2 separate regions of the Homo sapiens genome follow, and region 2 is linked to region 1. The links are contacts of gene promoters, found by promoter capture Hi-C in blood cells and fetal thymus (Javierre and others, 2016). All regions are on one chromosome and are shown on one strand. Each heading gives the region's core, a stretch centred on a gene start or on the middle of the fragment in contact. The rest is flanking DNA. Distances are from core to core; before and after follow the strand shown. Region 1 holds the start of FARSB (phenylalanyl-tRNA synthetase subunit beta). Region 2 overlaps RPL37A (ribosomal protein L37a).

Region 1 (5,249 bases), core at 1,591-4,090:
TCTCCTTAATTTCTGCTGAGCTGAGAGTTTTTCCATGCCTTTTGTCCAGCTCGTCTTTCCTTCCTAGGAAATGCTGCCACCTCATTCCTGCTTTCAGTCTGGCCCCAAAGTTAGATGAAAGAAGCATGTACCTACATTTTGTGATATACGATCTCATCATTTTCCATGTACCTTTCCTTTCAGTTAGCTAATGCCATTTGTGATGAGCCCTAGTGGCCTAGTTTCCTCTTTTCCATTAGAATCTTCTAACAGTTTAGCTTCTCACAGAGAAGGGACAGAGTACCTGTAACATGTGCAATGATAAAAAGTAGGATAGGTCAGTTGGGGGATGTGAGAGATGGGAACAAAATGCCCCTTGGTGGTCTGAGACTAGCAGAAAACTAACTAGGAGGATTAAAAAAAATGACAGTTGCCCCATTTCCAGGACCTCTGACATGATAAGAACTATACTAGTTATTTATGAGTATTATTTCAAATTCTTACAATAATTCTTTTTTAGTTTTTAAGACAAGGTCTCACTTTGTCACCCAGGCTGGAGTGCTGTGGCGCGATCACAGCTCACCACAGCCTCAACCTCCCGGGCTCAAGTGATCCGCGTAGATGGGATCATAGGTGTGTTGCCGCCATGCCTGGCTAATTTTTCTTTTTGTTTAGAGATGGGGTCCAACTCTGTTGCCCACGCTGGTTTTGAAATCCTGGGCTCAAGTAATCCTCCCACCTCGGCCTCCCAAAGTGCTGGAATTACAGATATGGGACACAATAATTCTTTAAGGTGTATATTATTATCCCTATTTTATGGATGAGGAAACTGAGGTTCAGAGGCCACAGAACACTTTGGAGTGCCCAAAGCAGAGCAGGTCAGCAGGAAGTCCTTTGGTTATTTATTATTACTATTTTGTTGTTGTTGTTGTTATTGCTTTTAAGACAGAGTCTTGCTCTGTCACCCAGGCTGGAGTGCAGTGGCGTGATCTTGGCTCACTGCAACCTCTGCCTCCTGGGTTAAAGTGATTCTCAGTCCTCAGCCTCCCCAGTAGCTGGGATTACAAGTGCCCACCACCACACCCAGCTAATTTTTGTAATTTTAGTAGAGATGGGGTTTTATCATGTTGGCCAGGCTGGTTTCCAACTCTTGACCTCAAGTGATCTGCCCACTTCAGCCTCCCAAAGTGTTGGTATTACAAGTGTGAGCCATCATGCCTGGCACTAGTCCTTTGCTTATTAATTGAGCAGAAAGCACCAATTTTAGGTGGAAAGCTGTATTTTGCATTGGGGATGTTTGCCATTTATGGGGTGTTGCCAATCTGTTATGTTGGTCACTGGGAAGGGACTGCCTTCCCATGGAGGGGAGCTAATACTGTATAGTGAAAAACTGCTTGATTAATAGTTAGGGTGGCTTACATCTGGCTCAGCTTTTCTCCCCTCATGTGAAGGACTTTGGAAGAAGCCCTCACTCACTGTACAGTAGAAAGGATTAGGGCAAGGCTCCCCCTGGAACTGCCAGTTTGTGCCTTAGTTTCATTACCTGTAAAACAGGGATAATGGTACCTATCTTGATGTATTAGTTTCCCTTGGCTGCTGAAACAAATTACCACGAACTTGCTGACTTAAACCATAAATTTATGCTCTCACAGTTCTGGAGGCCAGAAACCCAAAATCAGTTTCACTGGGCCCAAATCAGCATGCATTATAGGGCTGCCCCATGGGCTGGGCGTGAATCTGTCCTTGTCTCTGTTTATTTCAGGGATACATGTGCAGGATGTGAAGGTTTGTTACATAGGTAAATGTATGCCATGGTGGTTTGCTGCCCAGATCATCCCATCACCTAAGTATTAAGCCCAGCATCTATTAGCTATTCTTGATGCTCCCCGCTCCTCCACCCCCTCACCCCCAGTGTGTGCTTGTCTCTTTGTTTCTGGTGGCTGCTGGCATCCTTGGGTTGTGGCTGCCATACTCCAATCTCTGCCACCGTGGCTAAATCGTCTCTCTCAACCTCCCTTTTATGATTTGATGAGGATACTGTGATTCCATTTAGTGTTCGTCTTTCGAATCCAGGATAATCTTCATCTCAAAATCCTTAACTTAACCTGCAAAGACGCTGTTTCCATATAAAGTTACATTTAGAGGTTGCAGGGATTAGGGTCTGATATTATTGGGGGCCGTTATTCAGCCTATTACACTCAGGGTTGTTTTAAGGAGGAAATTTAATGCTGGCAGAGGGCTGAGCACAGCCCACTGACAGCAGAGAGCACTGAGCAAATAGACAAAAAAAGAGGTCTCTTACAATGCCTCCCTTATAGGGCTGCCGTAAAGTTCAAACAAAGCACAGGTATATCACTTATACGAGTAGAGGAGAGATTAAAGAATGAAGTAAAAACTGAGGTCTGTTAACAGCCCCTCTCCCGCCGCCAGGATTTGCACACCTTTCTCTGCAGGAAGCCTTGAACCCTCTCCACTCGCATTTCCACCACCTCCAGGCAAGATCTCCCACGTGGAGGCCCCACCCCCTCCCTGACGCGCCCCACTCTCGCCCCGCCCACCTGGTGGGCGTCCCCGGCCGTTAGCGCCCTGGAAGCATCCGGGACTTCAGGGTCAGTACATTACAATGCCTGACAAATCCTAGCCAGTTCTATCAAATTATATCTTTCTTACAGGCTTTTAAGCTATTAGTCTCATAAAGATACATTTAATCAGCGAGGTAATGGCATGATGAGTGTTTTTAGGTTAAAAAGAGAACAGGAACTGTTGCCAGCAGAATGGCGATATTCAAGACAACACGCACAAGAAGAGGCGGGTCCTACGCGCTTCGCTAGGGAAGCCCGGGTCAGCTCGCTGCGCAGGCGCAGTGAGTTCGACACACCATGCCGACTGTCAGCGTGAAGCGTGATCTGCTCTTCCAAGCCCTGGGCCGCACCTACAGTGAGTGGCGGCCCTATACGTTGGGCCCTACGCCTCTTCTCGGAGGCAGGGCCTCCCTCCAAAAGGGCAATGTGGCGACATTCATGCCTTCCTGAAGGTTTTGGCTCCGGGAGGCCGGGGTTTACGCGGGAAGGCCGATGATGGTGGCGGTCCGGCTGGGCTGTGGTAGCCTCGGAACCGGCATCGCAGCGGTGCCACTGCTTGTGCCCGGCTTGCCGTGTCATTCATTCAGCGATCTGCCATCGAGTGCCTACAGCGTGCCTGGCACCGACATCCAAGCCAGGGGATAGAACAGGAAGGAAACCCGGGGTTGCATCCCGAGCGTAGCCAGTTAATTGCAATAGCAGCGCTGTGGGAACTCAGTTTATAAGGGGGTAGGAGGAGAGATTTGTGCAGCGGGGTGGAGAACGGCATTCCACCTGTCTTCGTTTTATTAATGTTTCCTGAGCGCCTGTTATGTGTCAGGCACTGTTCTAAGAGCTTAGGACTAGAGCTGTGCACACGACACGTCAGGTCCACGTTCTGTCTGATGGAGGCAGACAATTAACCAGCACGTTAATAAAATGATTTCGGATAATGTTAAATGCCATCAAGGAAAGAAAAGGTGTTGTGCCAAGAACAACTTTAGATAGGGTGGTAACATTTGATCTGAGACCTGAATGGGGAGTATTAAATGGGTGTAGACTTCATTCTACATTTCATCTTTTAATCAGTTCTAAAAACACAACCATTGAAAAAAAGGAGGGAGATATTAAATGCAGTTATCAGTTACCTCACAGCCGTAGCAGCTGCCCCACCCTATTTTTTTTTTTATTTTTATTTTTTGAGACGGAGTCTGCACTCCCAGGCTGGAGTGCAGTGGCGCGATCTCGGCTGACAGCAACCTCCGTCTCCCTGTTCAAGCAATTTTCTGCCTCAGCCTCCCGAGTAGCTGGGATTACAGGCGTCCGCCATCGCGCCCGAGTAATTTTTTTGTATTTTTAGAGAGACCAGGTTTCACCATCTTGGCCAGGCTGGTCTTAAACTCCTGACCTCGTGATCCACCTGCCGCGGCCTCCCAAAATGCTGGGATTACAGGCGTGAGCCACCGCGCCCGGCCCCCACCCCATAATTTTTAGCTTGTATAAAGGCTGGACCAACTGGTTCGTGAGAGCTGTTTTTTTTGTTTTTAGGGCTCAGTGTGTTAACAAAGGCCTAATTGGTTTAATGACAGCCACCGCTTCCCAGAATAAGATTACTGTTACAGTGAAAATAAAGCTGGCTTTTAAGAATCTTTCCTAAGTGTGTACTTTTAGATAGTACCTATTCTCTATGTGATATTCTTCGTAAGTTCTGCCATAAGTCCCTGAAAGTAAAGGAAATACAAGGGTATTGTATTACTCTTACCCTTTGTACTTGGCTCTAATCGCCTAATCGCTTTATTTTATAATGAGCTTATTTATATTTCTTACCTGCCCTTCTAAACCATATTCTCACTAATGGGATGTGGTACAGGTTAATAATTCCTTATCCAAAATGCTTGAGACCAGAAGCGTCTTGGATTTTGGATTTTGGGATATTTGCATATACATAATGAGATATTTTGGGGGTGGGACCAAGTCTAAACATGAAATTGATTTATATTTCACATATACCTTATATGCATAGCCTGAAGTTAATTTTATGGAATACTTTAAATAATTTTTTTTTGCATGAAACAAGGTTTTGACTGTGTTTTTGACAAGTCACATGGAGTCAGGTGTGGAATTTTCCACTTGTGACATCATGTCTGCACTTTAAGGTTTTGGGTTTTGGAGCATGTCAGATTTCAGATTTTTGGATTGGGAATGCTCAGTCTGTATACCTGAATTGCCTAAGATGGTAGGTGGCAAATATTTGTTCAAAACATCTATAATCAGTTCCCATCCCAGTCTCCATTTCTAGGGAGGTAAGAAATAATCCAGATTTTTAAAAATGGTGAGATTTATAACCTATTTACTATCATCTGATGTTTTAACATATTCTGTCTGCTTCCCTTTTTTTTTCATATTGTCAGTGATCAATTAAGATTGATTTTTTCACAAATATGTGTTTGTTAGCTACTGAATCTTTTAAGGTCCAGGTACATGGCTGATGCTTGTAATCACAGCACTTTGGGAGGACGAGGTGGGCAGATTGCTTGAGCTCAGGAGTTGGAGACCAGACTGGGCAACACAGCAAAACCCTGTCTCTACAAAAAGTAGCTGGGTGTGGTGGTGTATACGTGTAGTCCCAGCTACTTGGGAGGCTGTGGCCGGAGGATCGCTTAAACCAAGGCGGTCAAGGCTGTAGTGAGCGGTGATCAAGCCACTGCA
Region 2 (4,059 bases), core at 1-2,500, 6.2 Mb after region 1:
TCTTCAGCCCTATCTACATCACCTGCCTCCCTATCATCTTGGGAAAATCACTATTTCCTTAGGTATAAAAATATTTATCTCAGCACTTTCACTGGTCTGTAAACTGTCCCCCGCCCTTTCCTCTTTTAACTGTCATAAAAAAGCAATACATGGCTGGGTGAGGTGGCTTACAGAATCCCAGCACTTTGGGAGGCCAAGGCAGACGTTATCAGTTGAGCCTGGGAGTTTGAGACCAGCCTGGTCAACATGGCGAAAGCCCATCTCTACTAAAAATAAAAAATACAAAAACTAGCTGAGCTTTGTGGCATAAGCCTGTAATCCCAGCTACTTCGGAGGCTGAGGCACGAGAACTGCTTGAACCCGGGAGGTAGAGGCTGCAGTGAACTGAGATCATGCCACTGCACTTCAGCCTGGGTGACAGACACTCTCTCAGAAAACAAACAAAAAGCAGTACTTCACTGATTATAAAAACCGAAGTTTTCCATGCCTAATCATGTAACATAGCAGCTTTGTAAGACTCCAAATTAATAATCCAAACACCCAGCATATACTCCATTCTACTACCAAGAATTATACAGGAAACTGAAGCAGAGAGGTTAAGTCACTTAACCCAAGTCACCCAACTATCTAGGCAGTTTGGCTAAGTTGGTGTTCTTAACCGCAGCATTAGACCATCTAATGCTCATTCAATTCCCTATGCTTACATGAAATCCTGGTCACTCACCTGGAGATCCTATGGAGAATTCTCCAGGAGATTCACCTGGAGAGCTGTGTCATTCCTATGAAGCCTGAAAATCCTGACTTGTCACTCCTGGTCCTACCCCTACTGACCCACAGTACTTGCTTCACATTACAAAATCAGTAGGAGTACCATTTTGTGACACAAATGAGATCCACAGATGAGTTACTGCTATGGATCTAGCAAATGCCTGACCCAGTGAAGTATTCTCCTGGGGTAGCGATGTTTCTGCCAGAGGCAATGCAGGAGGTACAGGTGAAGGGAGACATCCGTGCAAAGGCCAGTAATGAGCAAAAAAACAAGTTATAGAAGATAGGGGTCAGACCAAGTGAAATAAAGGTTTTTACTCTGTCCTAAAGATGAAGTAAATCCACATTCTTATCGAATTAAATTTGCATCCTTAAAGGACTACTGACTCTGGGATAGATAAAAGACATACCAATTAGGAGGACTGAGAAGTCCATACCACAGATGGTTGAGGAGTTAGACTAAATTGGCAGTGAATTAAGTGCATAAAAGTGTCAAAGGCAGGCCTAAAATAACTCGAATTCTCCAAGGCAATTCATTTTTTTGTTACTACAACCATCTGTCAATCTGAAATCAATCCTACGAATCCTTACGTGCAAACTAAAAACTGGAGAATTGCAGACGTTTGCAACATTTAATGTGAAATTAGTTTCATACTGTTTCCTGAAGATGCTGATGGTGTAGGTCAAATGAAACATCATAGAAGAGGCAGTATATGTATATCCTTTAGTATATCTTTTACCTTCAGAAACTTTTTTTTGGAGACAGAGTGTTGTCCTGGCTAAATAAAGTGCAGTGGCACGATCCTGGCCCACTGCAACCTCCGCCTCGTAGGTTCAAGTGATTCTTGTGCCTGAGCCTCCAAAGTAGCTGGGATTACAGGCATGTGCCACCATACCAAGCTATTTTTTGTATTTTTCGTCGAGACGGGTTTTTGCTATGTTGGCCACACTGGTCTCAATCTCCTGGCCTCAAGTAATCCACCTGCCTCAGCCACCCAAAGTGCTGGGATTTCAGGCGTGAGTCACCGCACCCAGCCTAGACACATTATAAAAATATTAAATGCAAGGCTGGGCGTGGTGGCTCACACCTGTAATCCCAGCACTCTGGAAGGCCAAGGCAGGTGGATCGCTTGAGGTCAGTTCAAGAACAGCCTGGCCAATGTGGTGAAAACTCCATCTCTACTCAAAATACAAAAATTAGCCAGGTATGGTGGTGCGTGCCTGTAATCCCAGCTACTCAGGAGGCTGAGGCAGGAGAATCGCTTGAACCTAAGAAGTGGAGGTTGAAGTGGGCCAAGACTGGTATACTGCACTCCAGCCTGGGTAACAGAGACTCCGCCTCAAAAACAAACAAAAAAACTAACTGTAATTTAAAAACTAAAGTTTACAGTTGGCTCCAATGTATCTCAAAGTCAAACTGGCAGGAGCAGACTTATAAAAAGCTAACACTCATATCTAACTTGGAAGACTTATATTCTTATGCTGCATTTTACCATTTGACTACTAAAAAAGACACTGAATTACAATAATCCATCTTGGCATGCTTTTCCAATACAACAGTATTTACACAATGCAAACATCAGAATGTCTAATAAAGTTAACAAGCCAAGGCAATTTTGTTACATAAATTAACCCATTTATTATAGGCCAGTGATGTCTCAAAGAGTAGAGGAGCGTCTACTGGTCTTTCAACTCCTTCAGTCTTCTGATGGCGGACTTTACCGTGACAGCGGAAGTGGTACTGGAAAGAAAGATTCAGTTTCCAACATAATTAAGCATGTTAACATAGAAAATGGCAAATAAGTAAATCTGCCTCGTTTTTGTGTTAAAGTCGCTTCCCAAATTTTCCTAGAAAGAATTATACTGAGATAGACTGCTCTACCAATACTTTGCTGCAGTCAATCCAAAGATCTAACCAACATTAGATTACTCCTCGGAAATTAGTGGCTTCTAAACTACATGATGGCATCCTTTAAGAGCCATGCCTTCAGGATCTTGCAGAATTAGACATACAATCTCATGCATCTGATTTCTCAACCAGAGTTGCTTTTTTTTTTATAAGTAACTCAGTTGTGGACAAGCAAGCTTTAACTCCCCCTACCCCATCCCATGAAAAAGAAATGGTTCTAAGAGGCTGACCTAAACTTATTAAAAGGGAATGGACAGATTACAAGAAATGAATAAATTACAAGATGATACAGTGAGAACAATGATTAAGGAAATAAGAGCGGACACTAAAGTGCCTTTGGGAAAGACAGCTATTGAAATGACTACAAAAGTTTTACCATAAAATTCAGGAACTATACCTGAAAATCACCATCCTGTATTGTAAGTATATAAATAATTCACTTTCCTATCAGAACCAAGAAAGCACTCTAGTTCCCATTTTCCATTCTGCCCTAATAAAAACCCCCACAAGGAATATATATATATTTCAACATTTTCCACTGCTTCGGTTTAAGTTTAAATTGACTGAAACTTTAAAATCCAATTCTTTAATTACACTAGCCATATATGTGCTTAGTGTATTGGACAACACAGGTCTAGATGCTAGTTTGTAGTATAGTGTTTGTAGTATCGCCCTGTCAGGTGATACTGAGTTGCAGATTCACAAACCTGCAGCAGTCTAATACTGTTCAGAAAGACGAAACTGTGGTGGTCCTGATGGCCTCAAGTTCCAAATACAGTTTTGAACTAACTGACCCCTTCACCTATTTTTATCAAAACTTGCAGTGCAAATCAACGTTCAGTAGATTCAGCCCCACTAATGGACCTGCACAGTATCATGACAATGTTCACAACAATGTGCCCAGTGACCATCAAATTCTAAAGTAGTCTGTGAATTAGATTTCCGACTTCTATTTTGGTAGTTTTGTGTTTACTCTTTCAATAACTGAAAATAAACCACCACGGAAGAATCCTGAAAATACAAAGGCATCCTTATTCTCTCAGTCCTGAGAAAGTGTTAAAACTAGCCCATCCAGCAGCAACCTGGAATTTGGGCCTATGTGGTCCACACACTTCCAAATACCACAAGGAACTAGACTCACTTGTACGTCCAGGCACCGCCAGCCACTGTCTTCATGCAGGAACCACAGTGCCAGATCCCCACAGCTCGTCTCTTCATCTTGGTCTATAAAAGAGAACCAATTTTCACTATGAACCAAGTAAGTATTTTCTCTTACAAGCATCCAGAAGTCTAAATTTGGATTCACCTTATTGTCAGGGATGTGAAAGCCTCCCTTTCTCCCTCAAAAACAAAACAGGGATTGCTGTAATGCAGTATTTTGC

Evidence for each region. Contacts are between HindIII fragments. The CHiCAGO score rates a contact against its expected background, and 5 or more counts as called.
Region 2: a fragment that was not itself captured here is called in contact with the fragment with the promoter of FARSB in region 1 in 1 of 17 cell types (total CD4 T cells); the score reaches 7.1 in total CD4 T cells.

Annotation. Positions count from the first base shown.
Region 1 is chr2:222,653,683-222,658,931 of GRCh38, reverse strand. It overlaps FARSB (phenylalanyl-tRNA synthetase subunit beta), which reads left to right and starts at 2,840. Exons shown (of 17, transcript NM_005687.5): 1 at 2,840-2,916. The coding sequence starts at 2,859. LOC124907985 (a long non-coding RNA gene) reads right to left here and starts at 2,499. Exons shown (of 2, transcript XR_007088095.1): 1 at 2,421-2,499. RefSeq lists a silencer at 2,417-2,613 and an enhancer at 2,730-2,779. The HindIII fragment of the contact is 12,443 bases long and covers 1-5,249 here.
Region 2 is chr2:216,499,791-216,503,849 of GRCh38, reverse strand. It overlaps RPL37A (ribosomal protein L37a), which reads right to left. Exons shown (of 4, transcript NM_000998.5): 3 at 3,819-3,901; 4 at 1-2,509. The coding sequence ends at 2,446. Among named protein-coding and RNA genes, the nearest start is that of RPL37A, 3.0 kb to the right of the region's middle. The HindIII fragment of the contact is 3,211 bases long and covers 1-2,855 here.